2 separate regions of the Homo sapiens genome follow, and region 1 is linked to region 2. The links are contacts of gene promoters, found by promoter capture Hi-C in blood cells and fetal thymus (Javierre and others, 2016). All regions are on one chromosome and are shown on one strand. The core of a region is centred on a gene start or on the middle of the fragment in contact, and the rest is flanking DNA. Distances in the headings are between cores, read along the strand shown. Region 1 overlaps ATP9B (ATPase phospholipid transporting 9B (putative)). Region 2 holds the start of SALL3 (spalt like transcription factor 3).

Region 1 (2,700 bases), core at 189-2,688, 330 kb before region 2:
GGCTCAGCCATGTTTCAGAGATTTCATCGGCACCACCAAAGCAATAACTTTTTATTATTCACCTCCTACGTGGCGGAGGGTGTCAGAGGACACTCCCCCCAACCCCAACAGGATGTCAAACGTTTCTTCAGTTAACTTCGGAGTAACTCATGACAATCCTCCTTGGAAACCAAGGCTCTCACGCTTGGACTGGGTGAACAGATCCAATGAACTGTGAATCTCCTGCCCATCAAATTACAGTGCTGTCTAATGAAGGGTTTAACTTTCTGCTCAGCTGGTGCTGCCTTTCAGTGAGGACCCAGCCCATCTGCGCCTGCTCACGCTGCTGCGAGACAGCAAACTCAGCTGGCTCCCTCCTTCCAAACTACGTGATGTTTAGTGATGCTTGTACAATTTAATTTCACACAAATTCCATGAAAGATTATGCCCTCTATCACCAAATGCCTCCAGTGGGGAAATACAATCAGGTTATAAAAGATCTGTGTTGCACGGCAGTGGACCTACTAGACTCCTGTCATCTTAGTAATAAAACAGAATACCGATAGAGAATCAGATCAATTTCACATAAGAAGTACTGTCTGTTCAACTAACAGAAGCTTTCAGCAAAAATGATTTTAAAAGTCCTCTTAGGTGGAAGCACAATAAACATTTACTGTGTTTATATAATGATGCTTCATCTTTTCTGCTTTTAATTTTTTCCTAATAACTTATTTGAAGCTATTAAAATTACATTCATAGATAATTTTTTTTTTTTAAAAAGCAGAGCTCATCTGGTACTATTTCAACGCAGAAATAGATTCCTGGGAGAAACTGTATTCCTTCTCCTTTTAAGATTTTTCTTCTATTAATAAATATCCTAGGTTACAAATATTCCGTATCTAAATGAATTACATCCAAAATAATAAAGTGTTTGGCTGTGTACGTATGTTTGTTTGCTTATGTGTGTGGATAAACATTCCATATGCTAAATATATACACATATGAGACTTCTTCCATTTGACAGCATGCCGACAGTAAAGCTTATGCCAGACTGGTAGCAAGTATACAAGAAAGAGAAGGTTTTCAAAAAACTGAATACAATGCTGACCACTGAATGCTACTCTGGAGTTGTCAAGAGTAGAAACGCAGCAATGGGAAAGTGTCATTTAGTCTAGTCTCTGCGAAAATCAAGTTTGAAACAAATTACTGTAAATACAAAAAGTCTCCTAGACTCCACAGCTGACGTCGCCAGGTGGCCTCTGCAAGTCTGGGCAGCAGTGCCATGCAGCGCTGGGAACTGTCACCTCCCAGGGTGGGCTGTGTACACTTTTGAAGGGTGGCCTCTGCAAGTCCGGGGAGCAGTGCCGTGCAGCGCTGGGAACTGTCACACCCCCCAGGGTGAGCTATGTACAATTTTGAACCTGATAGGCCTTAGCTCATTATTATGTGGATCACTATATTCAGAATAAATCAACAAACAGGCAGAAAAAGGGCCTCAGAAGGTGTAAATTTGTGACGCACACTGCAGCCTTGTCTGCTAGTCTCTTAAATTGATTCTCTCAGATCTCCAGGTCTGATCAAACTGAATCAATGACTTCAAATTATGACAGGCACAAAAAAATGCAAATGAATGACAAGGAAACACTCCTCAGGGCCAGGGCTGTGCTCAGTGTGGTGGCTCTGAGGTGCCTACAGCAGGAATGAGGCTGTTAGGATGACTTGGGTCCATGGACAGACTCTATACACAACCCACTGCCTGCAAAATCTCTGGCAAGTGGTACAGCCTCTAGGCTAAATCCTGTTTTAAAAGCAAATACAGGTTGAGTATCCCTGATCCAAAAATCTAAAATTGGAAATGTTCTAAAACTTGAAGCTTTTTGAACGCCATTGATGCTCAAAGGGATGTTCAGATAAGCGATTAGAGGTGTTCAACCAGTAAGGATAATGCAAATATTCCAAATCTAAAAAAATCCAGAATCCAACATATTTCTGGTCCTAAGCATTTTGAATAAGGGATACTCAACCTCTAATTCCTGTTCTCAGAACTTTAGGGAGCTTTGGCCCCAACGAAAGGCAGAGTCCTTATCAATTAGGGGCACATAATACATATTTACAGATGAAAGAATGTGATATTTGAGCTTCATGTCATAATATAATAATAATGAAGAACACCTACAGATGAAACATCACCACCTGGGCACTGATGACAGGTAGGTGAATGACAGATACGAGATTCCCAACACGATGGTGTCTACTTTTATCTACCGAAAAGGCAAAAAAAGAATTTACCTTTAAAAATATGAGAACATTTTATTATAGAGAAAAACAGAACTGTTAGAAAACATATTGATGTAGTATCCTACTGAACATTCTTCAACTACAATGTTTACTGAATAATTTTTTACAAATAACTCACTAGTAAAATGTGATATGAATAAATGACTTCAGCACACTATGCCTTCTACGATTTCACTCATGTACAAATGCTCATCAAAGACGATTTCCTGATTCGTATATTCGAACAGACGACTGAAGTAGCAGGATGTTAAGACCACCAAGAAGCGTGCTAATTTACAGATGGGAACACACGAGGCTCAGCTGGACTCATGGCGCGGGATGTGTGTGGAAGCAGACCCCGTGCAGGAGGAACCCACTTACCTGTGAGTAGGAGTCCCTGACATGGCTCTGGATCTCATCCATCGTGTCGGCGCCATAGGACAC
Region 2 (2,700 bases), core at 29-2,528:
CAAAGCCGAGGTCTCCAGCGCCCGGCCTCGGCGGATCCAAAAAGACGGGAGAGAAAAGGCCCGCGCAGACGCTGCAACGAACGCCCCGGAAACACGCCGCGAGCAGGGGCCAGGCCCAGGCCGCCGCCGCTGCGCTCACCCCCAGCTTAATTCCCCGGGCGGCCATTAGGCAGAGCCAAGCCCCCGACCTTCTCCTCGCCTCGCGAGGGATCACAGGCTGCGTCAACGCGCTGGGACACCGCGGGTCACCCGAGGCGGTGCGGGGGCCCGGGAGGGGCCGCGGGCCCCCGAACAAAGCTGGCCGGGCGGCGGGGTCCCCAACCCGCGTCCAGCGGTAGGTGGGCTGCGGTCGCCTTCCCCGCCGCCGCCGGCCTCAGCGTCCTGGCGCAGAGACCCTGGGGGGCGGCGCGGCGGCGGAGGCACCGTGGACTCCCTCCCGCCCCGGCCTCCGAGCCGTCCTCGAGCCGGCCGCGGCCTCGGCGCCCTTCGCGGGCAGCTCCCCGACTCCGAGGAGAGGAGCCAAGTTTACTTCGCCCACAACTCTCTCGGCGGCCGCGCGCGCTCCGGCGAAGTACCCGGGGCCCCGCGGCCGGCCTGGCGCGGGGCGGACGCTTGCCCGCAGGAAGCAGGGAACTTTCTCCCGCTCCCGGACGCGCGCATCCGCTCCCGCCGCACGCGCTTCCCCAGCCCGGACGGGCAGCCCCAGACCCCCCGGCCACCCCGCAGCCCCGGCCCTCACCGTGCTCGGGAGCCCCGTCAGGCGGCAGCAGCTCCTCGTCCGACTTGAGGTGCTGGGGCTTGGCCTGCTTGCGCCGAGACATGCTGCTAGCGGCGCTCGGGCCCCGCGCGGGGCAGCGGCATCAGCGGGGCGGCCGGCGGGGACGGCGCGGGGCGGCCTGGCGGGCGCGCGGCGCGGGGCGCGGGGCGGCGGCGGCTGCGCGGGCCGCGCATGGGGCTGAGCAATTAGGCTGGTGAATAATGCATGGCCATTAGCGGAGGGCCGCGCCGATTGGCCGGGCTCCAGCGGACTCCGGCGGCCTATGCAAATGAGGCCGCGCTCGCAATTAGCGGCCGCGCCGACGAGGAGGGGGCCGCGGCGCCTCGGGACCGGGGCGCGCGCTGCCCGGCGCCGCCTCACATCGCGGGCTCCGGCGCCGCGCTCCTCGGCCGCCCCGGGTGCGGCTGTGGCGGGGCCCGGGTGCGGCGCGGGCCGCGGTGGCCGTCCCTCCGCAGGGCGCAGGCAGCAAACTTTGGCGGCGTCCGCGCGGCGCCGTCTCCGCCGGCGCGCCGGGCTCGCCCCTTTATAGAGTGTCTGCGCCGCCGCCCGCGCCCCCCCCGCCGCCGCCGCCGGGCGGCCCCTCCCGGAGCGAGCGGCCGCGGGCAGGGCTCCGACCCGGCGCCTTTGTCTCGCCCGGGCCGCTCGGGCGCCGCGCCTCCTGTTCCGGGCGCGCGGGGTCGGCCGGCCGCCTTCGCTGCTCCGCCGCGGCTCTCAGCGCCGCTCAGCGCGGCGGGCCCGCCCGGGCTCAGGTGCCCCCCGCTCTCCGGACCTTCTCGCCCGGCCCCGCGTCCCCTCCGCGGGCTTCCCCCGGCGGCCGGCCGGGCTCGGAGGCTCGCGGCCGGAGCGGAGCGGAGTGCGCACGCCGGGGTGGCAGGACTTCGGCAAGACCAACTTTCCGGTTCGGAAGCGGCGCGGGCCGCGCGGCTCCTCCCCTCCTCTCCCTCCCCTGCGTTCCCCCTCCCTTCCACTCCCCCCTCTCCCCGCCCCCCAACCCGCGGGCCCCACCGACTCCGGAGCGCCCGCCCCGCCCGCTGCTGCCACCGGGCCGCCTCGCCCCCGCGCCAGCCCGCCTGGGCCTCTGCGCCGCCGGCGGCTTCTTAAATACAGGAAAGGGAGGGGACCGCAGGGCCCCGGTGTTCCCCACCCTAGTCCCCCTTCACCACGGGCCACCGGGCGCCAGCGGAGTGGGCAGCGAGCGCGACCGAAAGTTCCAACTCCACCAAACTCCCGCGCGCGGCCCACCCTTTCCCGGGATTTCGGGGATGACACGGGGGCCAGGTGAGGGGGCTGCGCACTTCTGGATCGGCCCCACACACTCGGCCCCTGGCGCGGCGCGCTCCCCGCACACGCGCCCGCCCCCTCCCCGCGGTCACACGCACGCGCCCTCGCCCTCGCCCCGCGCGCACAGGCGCGTACTCCCACCCGCGGCCGTGCACCCGCCGCGCTCCTTCCCGCGCGTGTCCTCTCTCCCCGAGCGGCCGCCAGGATGTGCCCCCGGCCCCGTCGTCGCCGCGCCCGCGCCCCTCGCCCCAGTACGTCTTTTTTCGTTTCCTAAATTTCTTATTTTTGTCCTTGCAAGTGGTCCTGTCTGGTGTGAACCGTCAGCACAGATGGCCTCCTGGAGCTTCCCCGAGTCGTTCGCTGGGGGAAGCGGGCGGTGAGCGGCCAGCCCGGGCGCTCCGCAGGCCGCGAGCTCCCGGCAGGGCTGGTGGCGGGGGTCCGCCTGGGGGAGGAATCCCCGCCTGCTCCATCGGACCCGGCCTGGCGCGGCTCGCGGCGCTCGGCGGGCTCCCTTCCATTCTAGAATCTTCCCGCTTGCTTCCCAGCCCGCGTTCTTCCGCCTGCCTTTAATTGTGTAAGTTTGACGAAGTCAGAGCTTTGGGTTCCAGGAAAAGCGCAGGAGGGTCATAGAGGAAGGGAGG

The links. The method cuts DNA at HindIII sites, captures the fragments that hold promoters and counts their contacts. A CHiCAGO score of 5 or more calls a contact.
Region 1: a fragment that was not itself captured here is called in contact with the fragment with the promoter of SALL3 in region 2 in 1 of 17 cell types (M2 macrophages); the score reaches 5.9 in M2 macrophages.

The regions. Positions count from the first base shown.
Region 1 is chr18:79,303,654-79,306,353 of GRCh38, reverse strand. ATP9B (ATPase phospholipid transporting 9B (putative)) reads right to left here. Exons shown (of 30, transcript NM_198531.5): 14 at 2,638-2,700. Among named protein-coding and RNA genes, the nearest start is that of NFATC1, 91 kb to the left of the region's middle. The HindIII fragment of the contact is 833 bases long and covers 1,022-1,854 here.
Region 2 is chr18:78,978,396-78,981,095 of GRCh38, reverse strand. SALL3 (spalt like transcription factor 3) reads right to left here and starts at 1,278. Exons shown (of 3, transcript NM_171999.4): 1 at 740-1,278. The coding sequence starts at 821. It overlaps LINC01896 (long intergenic non-protein coding RNA 1896), which reads left to right and starts at 1,405. Exons shown (of 5, transcript NR_187297.1): 1 at 1,405-2,056; 2 at 2,358-2,633. The HindIII fragment of the contact is 14,735 bases long and covers 1-2,700 here.